Linked DNA regions of Homo sapiens: region 2 is linked to region 1. Evidence: promoter capture Hi-C in human tissues and cell types (Jung and others, 2019). All regions are on one chromosome and are shown on one strand. Each heading gives the region's core, a stretch centred on a gene start or on the middle of the fragment in contact. The rest is flanking DNA. Distances are from core to core; before and after follow the strand shown.

Region 1 (4,595 bases), core at 1,326-3,825:
TTAAGTGGAGACTAAACCCAAAGGGCCCCATGATGGGAGAGACTGGGAGGGGGAAACAGCAGCTAATGGCCATTTGCCTGCCCAAATCCACTATCTATTTACAATCCCAGGAGAATGCTGCTCACCAGTTAGAAGGACCAAGTTTCTCCCCACGCCCCCCCACCCCACACTCACCACCACCACCCACACTAATCAGCTATTCACACTATGTATGCCCTTGGACACACCAATTCAAGAAAGTGGAACCTATCTGAGAATCTCCACGGTTCAGCAAAAGGTGGAGGAGGGGTAGGAATACAAGGTCAAACCCTGCCCAAGTGGGCTCACAGCTCAAGACTCCATCCTGTTTATTCACAAAGCTAATTCTGCCCACTGGCCCACGCAGCCCTGGGCCCTGCACTTTCAAAATACTCCATGAAGGCAGCACACTGACTTATTCGGAAGTTGGCTAGGGAGCAGCTGAATTTCCTAAGCTAATAAGGACACCCCCAGACCCAGTCTCCCTACCTTACTCTTCAGCTCTTCTCGCACTTTCTGGAGAACATGTGGGTAGAGCCCCAGGTAAGTGATCAGAGATGTGGCTGCACTGGCCGTGGTTTCGTGTCCTCCAAAGAGGAGTTCGGTTGAAGATTGCTTTAGTGCCTAAGAATAGAGTGAGACCCACATTCTCACAAGTCTGCCTGCGGTTTGACAGAAGGATTACTCAGAATCGAACTGAGAGTTCTGGAGGGAAGACTAGAAGGGCTAAATGTTTTGCTGACAGAAAGTCAAGGAAAGCAATATCTTTAAACAAAATGCAACGTCCCTTTAGTTCAGCTGGAGCAGTAAGGCGAGTACGACCCCGCTCTACCGGAAACTCCTGAGTTAAAGTCTTAGTTTTATTAAAATCGCAAGGTTCTTTATTAACATTTTTGCAAATTCCAACTTTCCCTTTGAAACCTGGAAAGGCTAGGGGATGCTCCCAGTTCCGCCGCAGCCCCTTCCGCAGCTCTCCTGACCGGGTGTCTCAGCCTTCCTTCGGGATTCCATAGCTGTAGTCTGAGCCGGCCGCCCACTCCAGAAAGCTGGGCCCCAGGCGCGCGCTTTGGGGGCCCCAGGAACAGCGCTTGGAAAGCCAGGGGACCAAACTCCGCAGTGCCTGGTCTGAAGCTGCTACTCACCTGCATGTCCAGCCGCTCTCCCCTCTCCCACGAGTGCTCGATCAACAGCTGCAGCGCGTCTTTGCAGCCCTGGCCCGCCTCGGATGCCCGCAGCCCGCAGATCTTGGCGCGAATGTTCTGCTCGATGCGCGCGTGAATGAGGTTCCGCGCCTTCATGCCCTGAGCGCAGAGAGCGCGCGGCGGTGAGCAGACGCCCAGGTCCCGCGCCCCTAGTCCGCAGCCCGTTTGCCGCCCTTACCCGGTACAGCCCGCTGAAGGGCACGTCGATGGGCAGCGAGAAGAGATTGCGGGTCATTTCCTCGAAGGCCTCCACAAGCTGCTGCTCGGAGTCCCCGTCGCCCGCCAGTTGGGGTTCGCAGCCCAGTAGGATGCGCATGGCGATTCGGAACATGAGGCGCTTCACCTCGGGGTAGACCAGGAGGCCGCGCTCGCCGCAGCTCAGCCACTGCTCCAGGCTGCTGCCCACTTCCTCGGTGATCACCGGCACGTAGCATTCGAGTGCCTCGCGGCTGAAGGCCCGCATAATCACCTGAGTCCCGAGGAGGGGACAGCGTTAAAAGCCTCCATCCGCCCCTCTCGTCTACCGCCGTCCCCTTCCAGACACCCCCAGTCCTGCCAGACACATGGCACTCTCCGAGCTGGGAAAGCTAACCTGGAGCTGGCAGAGGGTCCTAGCCCACCTCAAGCTGCTAGCCCGCGCCTAGCATCCATCAGCCGGAATTCCGCTCATAAATGGGGTCCCCCTCCCTGTCCAGCCGTCGCCTCCTGCCCCCACCTTCTTGCGCTGCTTGTGCGAGGAGTCGTGCAGGTTAGAGAGGCAGCCAGATCCCAGAATGGTGCGCACCGACGCTGGCCAGTGGACCGACACCAGCCGGTGCTCTCCGAGCAAGATGCGCCGCACATTGTCCGCGCCCATCACCCGTACGGTGGGCCGCCCGAACAGATGCGTCTTGTAGATGAAGCCGTATTTCCTGCGCTTCATCTGCAGGAACTTCCTCCGCTGTGGGAGGAAGGCGGAGGAGAGAAGTGGGCATGAGGGGGCGCCGGGGAGCGCCGCGCTCCCGCCAGCCCTGCTCCTAGCCGCAATAGCATGCCTCCCGGGGGCGCCTACCCCGACTTCAGCAGAAGCCCAGAGCCGCGCCGGGCTCCGGGGAAGCAGCCTGTCCCGCCCCACCCTCCCTTACCTGCAGTACCATCTGCAAGGTTTCCCCAAAGAAGGGGAAGCCCATAGTCCCGGGGGGCAATGGGAGGGCACAACTGCGGTCGCGGCCGCTCACGCAGTACAGGTCCCAGAGCTTGATCGCAGCCAGGAAGAGCAGCAGCGGCAGCACGAAGGTGCAGAGCGCACTGGCCAGCAGCGCCGGGAGCCCCATGGCGCGCCGCGACCTCCCGCGCCACCTGCCGCCGCCGCCAGCGCTTCAAACCCCACGGCGCTGCCGCTTTATAGGCGGCCCAGGTTGCTGCCCACGTTACCTTGGTCAGACAATTAGTTCACCCAAAGTTCATCTTTAATTGCGGATTGGGCCCCTGGCTCCTCCCCCCGCGAGGCGCTGCCCAAAATCTTTAACCGTTTGTTCCGCGCCGAGGCAGAGGCGGCGCGGTGGCGGCTTCCCTCCGAGCGCGCCTCCTGGGGTGCGGGGCTAGGAGCTGCCCGCCTCCCCCATCCAAGGTGTGCTGAGCTCCGAGGCGGCGGTGGGGGAGGGCCAGGACTCCGAGGAGCCGGAATTCCAAGCTCTAGCCTTCCCGGCGGTCTCTTTGGAATCCCTCCCGCCCGGTCCCACCCGCTGCCCCGGCCCAAAGCAGCCTTCACTGGCTTTCCATTTCCAGGTGCCGGGTGGGCTCTCTTCCACGTGATGAGGAAGCAAGGGAAAGTCCTTTCAGGAATCGTCCAGCTGCCTCCTCCCACGTGTGGGGAAACTGAGGTCCAAGAGAGATGCATAAAGCAGGCCTCCAGACGTCTCCGAAGGATCGCGCAGAAGAACTCAGGGCCAGAGTCCAAGAGAGAGCCTCGGGGCATCGGGCGCAATAGGCAGATCTGGGATCCCCAGCTCCCCAACCCCTGCAAGGGGGCCAGGACTCATGAAGTCTTAGAAGGTCCTACTTCAGGATACAAGAAGGCCTCCAGGTCCCTCAGGTCCCCAGGTGCTACCCTGCACAAGCCTGATCCCCGACCCTGGGGCACTTCGTCTGGGGCTCGGCAGTCGGTGCCCGTCTCTGAGATCCAAGCACAGCTCGCCTATTCGGAGGGCCCTGCTGCTTGGCGCCCCAGCTGGACAGCAGGGAAGGGGGTCCTTAGCCCTGGCAGGATAAAGAGACGGTATAAGAGGAAGGGGAGCCCAGGAGTCCTGGCTCCGAGGCCCGGCTCCATCTGTACTGCGTGTGACCTTGGGCAAGTCACCACACATCACTGTGCCTGTTTCCTCCTCCTTAACCGGGAGGCGATCATTCCCGACCTGTCTAAGCCTCAGGGTAGTGAGTTCCCAAAAGGGGGCTCCGGTTGCAACTACTCTTCCCAGCTCCAGGCACGGTAGACTGCGTTACCTGGGTGTCCGGTACACCGGGCACTGGAGTCCTCCTCCTCTCTCCCAAGTCCCACCCAGAGTAAAGCCACTGTCCTCATCCAGGTGAGGGGGTGCTCGGCCCTAAACTCAGGGCTCTACCGACCCCTAATGGGAGGGGTGAAGGGATCCGTACTGGGAAGTCTTCTGTACTTTGCCCATCTACAATCAGCTGCTACTGAGCTGCCAATGCCCGGAGCTCAGACGCTGCGGGACGCGCACCTGCTCTCTCTGCTCTCCACCTGCCGGAGCTTCCCGGCTCGGGACCAGTCAGGGTCACACGCTACCTGGGTTTGGGCGCTGAACGCACCTGCGGCGCCGAAAATGAAACAGAATGACCTGCATTTGTTTAAAACTGAACACTGTCTCTGGCAGAAGCACGCCGCACGCCTTGGAAGGCGTCCCTTGGAGGTGGAAAACTCTGCTCCTGAGAGTTTAAATGCGTTGCCCTTCTCGCGGTAGTCCCCAAACCCGGAGGTATCAGGAAATATCTGCAGAGGTCGGAGGGACCCGCACAATCCTAGCGACTCTCCAAGCCAGAGTCGCCGCCACAGGGAGTGTTTCGGGGGGTCAGCGTTTCCCCATAACCTGCCCAGTGTTTCAGAGGCTCTGGGCAGGGTTTCAGTCTCCGGCAAACGATTTGGTGGCTGTAAACACGGCGAACCAACCTCTGGCCACTGCAGGAAGCCAGGCCAATCGCGCTGGAGGTAATTCTCAGAAATCCCGGGTCCGCCCCTTTCTGGACAGCGCCTCCGGCCGGTGTGCAAAGCCGACGAATGGGGACGTGACCTGGGGCCCATTCCCAATCCTCGGGCCTGACCCGCCTGTGACCCCTGCAGGCCGGACCGTGACATCCGAGTGAACTCTGCGGGGCCAC
Region 2 (4,595 bases), core at 19-2,518, 470 kb after region 1:
ACCATTATCAGTAAGTTTCTCAAAAATTTGATGAAGGGTACGTGGAATTATACCAGCCAAGGGATCCTGAAATTATAATAAGGACTAATATAAAGGAAGAATGCCATTTACTGTGGCAGTTAAAATACATGGGCCTCCTTTATAATATATTTAAACATAAGTATGGCAAAGCAAGTTAAAACAAAACAAAAAAAGAAACAACTAACCTAATGTTAGAGAAGTCATTTACAACAGTCTGTTCTACAGTAGTCTTCACACCCTCCATAAACCTGTCACACTTCTTAGCCATCTTCATCCCTGAGCATTACATAGAAACCAATGGAACCTATCTACTTAAAAAGCCAAGTTCGGCCAGGCACGGTGGCTCACGCCTATAATCCCAGCACTTTGGGAGGTCAAGGCAGGTGGATCACAAGGTCAGGAGATCAAGACCATCCCGGCCAACACGGTGAAACCCCATCTCTACTAAAAATACAAAAATTAGCCGGACTTGGTGGTATGTACCTGTAGTCCCAGCTACTCAGGAGGCTGAGGCAGGAGAATCACTTGAACCCGGGAGGTGGAGGTTGCAGTGAGCCAAGATCGAGCCACTGTACTCCAGCCTGGGCGACAGAGCGAGACTCCGTCTCAAAAAAAAAACGCCAAGTTCAATAATTCTGCCCAGCGAAACTATGCTTTAAGCCTATTCCATATCTCCTATGGTAACAATTTCATAACTTTATTATCTATATATGTAAAGTAAGTTAATGACTCAATTATGTAACCACTAGAAGAAAGGTTCTACCCAACTGTCAATAATTTGGAAAATTAGCTGGGCAAGGTAGTATGTGCCTCTAATCCCAGCTACTCAGGAGGCTGAAGTGGGAGGACTCCTGAAGCCCAAGAGTTCAAGACTGGCCTGGGGAACACAGTGGGACCCCATCACTTTAAAATTTAAAAAAAAAAAAAAAAATTAAAAAAAATTCTTTTTTTTTTTAAATTAACTAGTTTTTTGGTTTTTTGTTTTTTTGTTTTTTTTTGAGACAGAGTCTCGTTCTCAGGTAGCTGGGATTACACGTATGCACCACCACACCCAGCTAATTTTTGTATTTTTAGTAGAGACCGGGTTTCACCATGTTGGCCAGGCTGGTCTCGAACTGCTGACCTCAGGTGATCTGCCCGCCTCAGCCTCCCAAAGTGCTAGGATTACAGGCATGAGCCACCGTGCCCGACCAATTAACTAGTTATTAAACTCATTTAAATTTAAACACATTACTAAATTTAAAACTAAACTTTTTTTTAAAAGTTTTAACACTTCAGCTCTAGTTCAACTTGTCTTGGTCTTCTTTCAACTTTCTTCCAGTATTGGTTCTCTCTCTTAGTTATTAAACTCACTTAAATTCATGGAAATCTTTGTAAAACATAGTATATGCTTTCTGCAATATTAAACAATACATTCATCTTAATTTCTTGAACACTTAGGATCATCATGAATAAAGTACTATACTTCCCCTGGCCATGCTAACTTTCTGAGACCCATTCCTTCAATACAAAGCCCTCCCTGCCTTCAAGCTTCACTCATATTCCAACTTTTCTACAATATTCTGCTCCAACCATTCTGTCATAAATAGACTCCTCTTTTATCATATAACTGTGCCATATATATTGGTCCTTCCTCTTCCATTGAGGCTGTTTCTTAAACAGGAGTCATACCATGCACTTTAATTTTACTGTAGTAGTGGTTTATCCTAAGTTCATTTTGACATAGGTACTCTGATCTCTATTCCAAGACAGAGGCCCTCAAACAAGTTTTATACAGTTAAATTTCAGTCACATTAGAGATAAAAGTATGTTATAAACAATAAATACCTCTTCCCAGGTATACTCTTCATTAGGTGACCTTTCACCTTCCATTGTAAAAGTTTTTCCAGTGCCAGTTTGGCCATACCTGTAAAGATTAACAAGTGTTAAATCAAAAAGAAACATGCACCCATATGACTCTTAGTGATAGACTAGAAAAACAAAAAACAAGCCAGGCACAGTGGCTCAAGCCTATAATCCCAACACTTTGGGAGGCCGAGGTGGGCGGATCACCTGAGGTCCGGAGTTCGAGACCAGCCTGGCCAACACAGTGAAACCACGTCTCTACTAAAAATACAAAAATTAGCGGGCATGGTGGCAGGCAGCTGTAATCCCAGCTACTTGGGAGGCTGAAACAGGAGAATTGCTTGAACCCAGGAGGCAGAGGCTGCAGTGAGCCGAGATCGCGCCATTGCACTCCAGCCTGGGCAACAAGAGTGAAACTCCGTCTCAAAAAACAAACAAACAACAACAAAAAACACAAGCATTTAAGCTTTTTCATAAATCAGAAAAAACACCCTTTTACTTACGCAAAGATAGTGCAATTATAGCCCATAATAACTTCATCCAGAATTGGACAAACAACACTTCGGTAAACATCAATCTGTTTAGTAGATGCTCCAAACACCTAACGAAAAAAATTAAAAAAAAAAAAATCAACCTCAAAATTACTCATTTTAATAATTTTGTTTTTCGTATGTTAACTAATTCATAATTCAGCCCACTAGAAGCCATCTGACAATTCAGAGACAACTGAAATTTCTAAGTATACACCATTTTCCAGGTAAAATATGTATATTAAAATTATTTTACATTAGTGGATAATAAAGAAATTGCACCATATGTTACCATATCAAAAGTGTATGTTTTCCTTGAGCTCTTGTCAGCCAATCCTCCAGTTCGTACACTAACTTCTTTTCGTACAGGATCACATTCTACTATTGAATGGGCGCTAGCTTTCCGCTCTGCCAAATTAAATGGTCTATAAAAAGAAATACACAAAGTCATTCAAGAGCTCTTAGTTCTCAGGTTATCAATGACATTTTCACTAACTACATTTGTCAAGAAAAATGCGAAATTTTGACCACATTGTTGGTGATGGAGATTAAATCAGGACTAAGTGATATTGCTAAAGCAGACAGTAAAATTATAAGTGTCTCAAGTTTCACAAATATAATTTTTTAAATGTTCAAAGATATGTTAAGACATTACAATTCTGGCAGCTTCTTAGAGCAGATACGAATAGATTTGTTTTGTTTTGATGGTAGAGATGGGGTCTTGCTGTGTTGCACAGGCTGGTCTCAAACTTCCGGGCTCAAGTGATTATCCCACCTCAGCTTCCCAAGGTGCTAGTATTACAGAAGTGAGACACTGTGCCCAGCCACTAACAGGTTTTAACTTGTAAAAATGCCAAACTTATTTTTCAGAATTCCATTTCTCCTATTCTTAAAATCTGATCAAGGCTGGGCGCAGTGGCTCACGCCTGTAATCCCAGCACTTTGGGAGGCCGAGGCAGGCGGATCACCTGAGGTCGGGAGTTCGAGACCAGCCTGACCAACATGCAGAAACTCTGTCTCTATTAAAAATACAAAAGTAGCTGGGCATGGTGGTGCATGCCTGTAATCCCTGCTACTCGGGAGGCTGAGGCAGGAGAATTGCTTGAACCTGGGAGGTGGAGGTTGCGGTGAGCCAAGATCGCGCCATTGCACTCCAGCCTGGGCAACAAGAGCGAAACTCCGTCTCAAAAAAAAAAAAAAAAAAAAATCCGATCAAATTAGGTTATGATGTAGTAGAAAAAAACATGTCAAATTTGTGTTCAAAATACTAATCTGCCAGTAGATACCTGGCACAAAATAAAAAGTACATAAAAATAATGACTAATAAGTTGAGTACTTACTATGTGCCAGGTACTTATTGTTTCAAGTGCTTTGCATTGTGCTCACTCAGTTTGTCCACACAACACTGTGAGGTTGGTAATATTATTAGCCCCATTTTTAAATGAGTGAATAGACACAGAAGGTCTACACTGCCGACTGGATCAAGAGTCCTCATTCTACGGAAATGCCTGAGTAGGTATTTAGTTGAAATGATTATTTCCTCAGGAAGTCCTTTCTATCCTATGTGCCTCCCCCACCTGCTCCAACCAAGACCACATTAAATGTCTGCTATATATTCCTACAGCACCCTTTATACACCTTTTCTAAACATCACCTCTCTTATCTTTTTTTTTTAATGTGTTACCCACTAAACCTCAGATCACTACAGAAAGAAATACTGTCTAGTTTACTGTTTCCCCAGCAACAACTACCATGCTTAGCACACAGTAGGTTCTTAAATATCTGTTAAACTACATTGCCTAATAAATGTCATCCTAAGAGGAATTATGGGAAAACTAATATCACAGTCCACAGAGTAGCATCAATAAGACAATTATATACTCAATACATGTCTGGGCCAAAGGGAGAGACATAATCTTGACCTGAGTTCATTTTTCCCATTGAGTATCATATATTTTGGAGAAAGTGCCAAACAGGAAATTATTTCCCCCTTATCACTAGATAAACCAAGTTGCTACTTATTTAAGAAGGATACCTCAACTTCCCCTGGCACAGCCCACTCTAAGTATACTTCCAAGTGATCAGAAGACCAAATCTGTGATCCTAGGAAACTTAACTCCCAGGTAGTATCTGGTAATGCTTTCATTTGCCAACTATACTAAAACTTACACAATGCATATAACCAACATGAATGTACAG

What was found. The method cuts DNA at HindIII sites, captures the fragments that hold promoters and counts their contacts. A contact is called where the count stands out against the background at its distance.
Region 2: a contact is called between a fragment that was not itself captured here and the fragment with the promoter of CYP26A1 in region 1, in 1 of the 25 tissues and cell types used here (dorsolateral prefrontal cortex).

The regions. Positions count from the first base shown.
Region 1 is chr10:93,071,873-93,076,467 of GRCh38, reverse strand. It overlaps CYP26A1 (cytochrome P450 family 26 subfamily A member 1), which reads right to left and starts at 2,575. Exons shown (of 7, transcript NM_000783.4): 1 at 2,345-2,575; 2 at 1,936-2,160; 3 at 1,399-1,689; 4 at 1,161-1,319; 5 at 508-642. The coding sequence starts at 2,533. The HindIII fragment of the contact is 10,778 bases long and covers 1-4,595 here.
Region 2 is chr10:92,604,491-92,609,085 of GRCh38, reverse strand. It overlaps KIF11 (kinesin family member 11), which reads right to left. Exons shown (of 22, transcript NM_004523.4): 2 at 2,689-2,821; 3 at 2,370-2,467; 4 at 1,849-1,927; 5 at 1-66. Among named protein-coding and RNA genes, the nearest start is that of KIF11, 14 kb to the right of the region's middle. The HindIII fragment of the contact is 7,011 bases long and covers 1-4,595 here.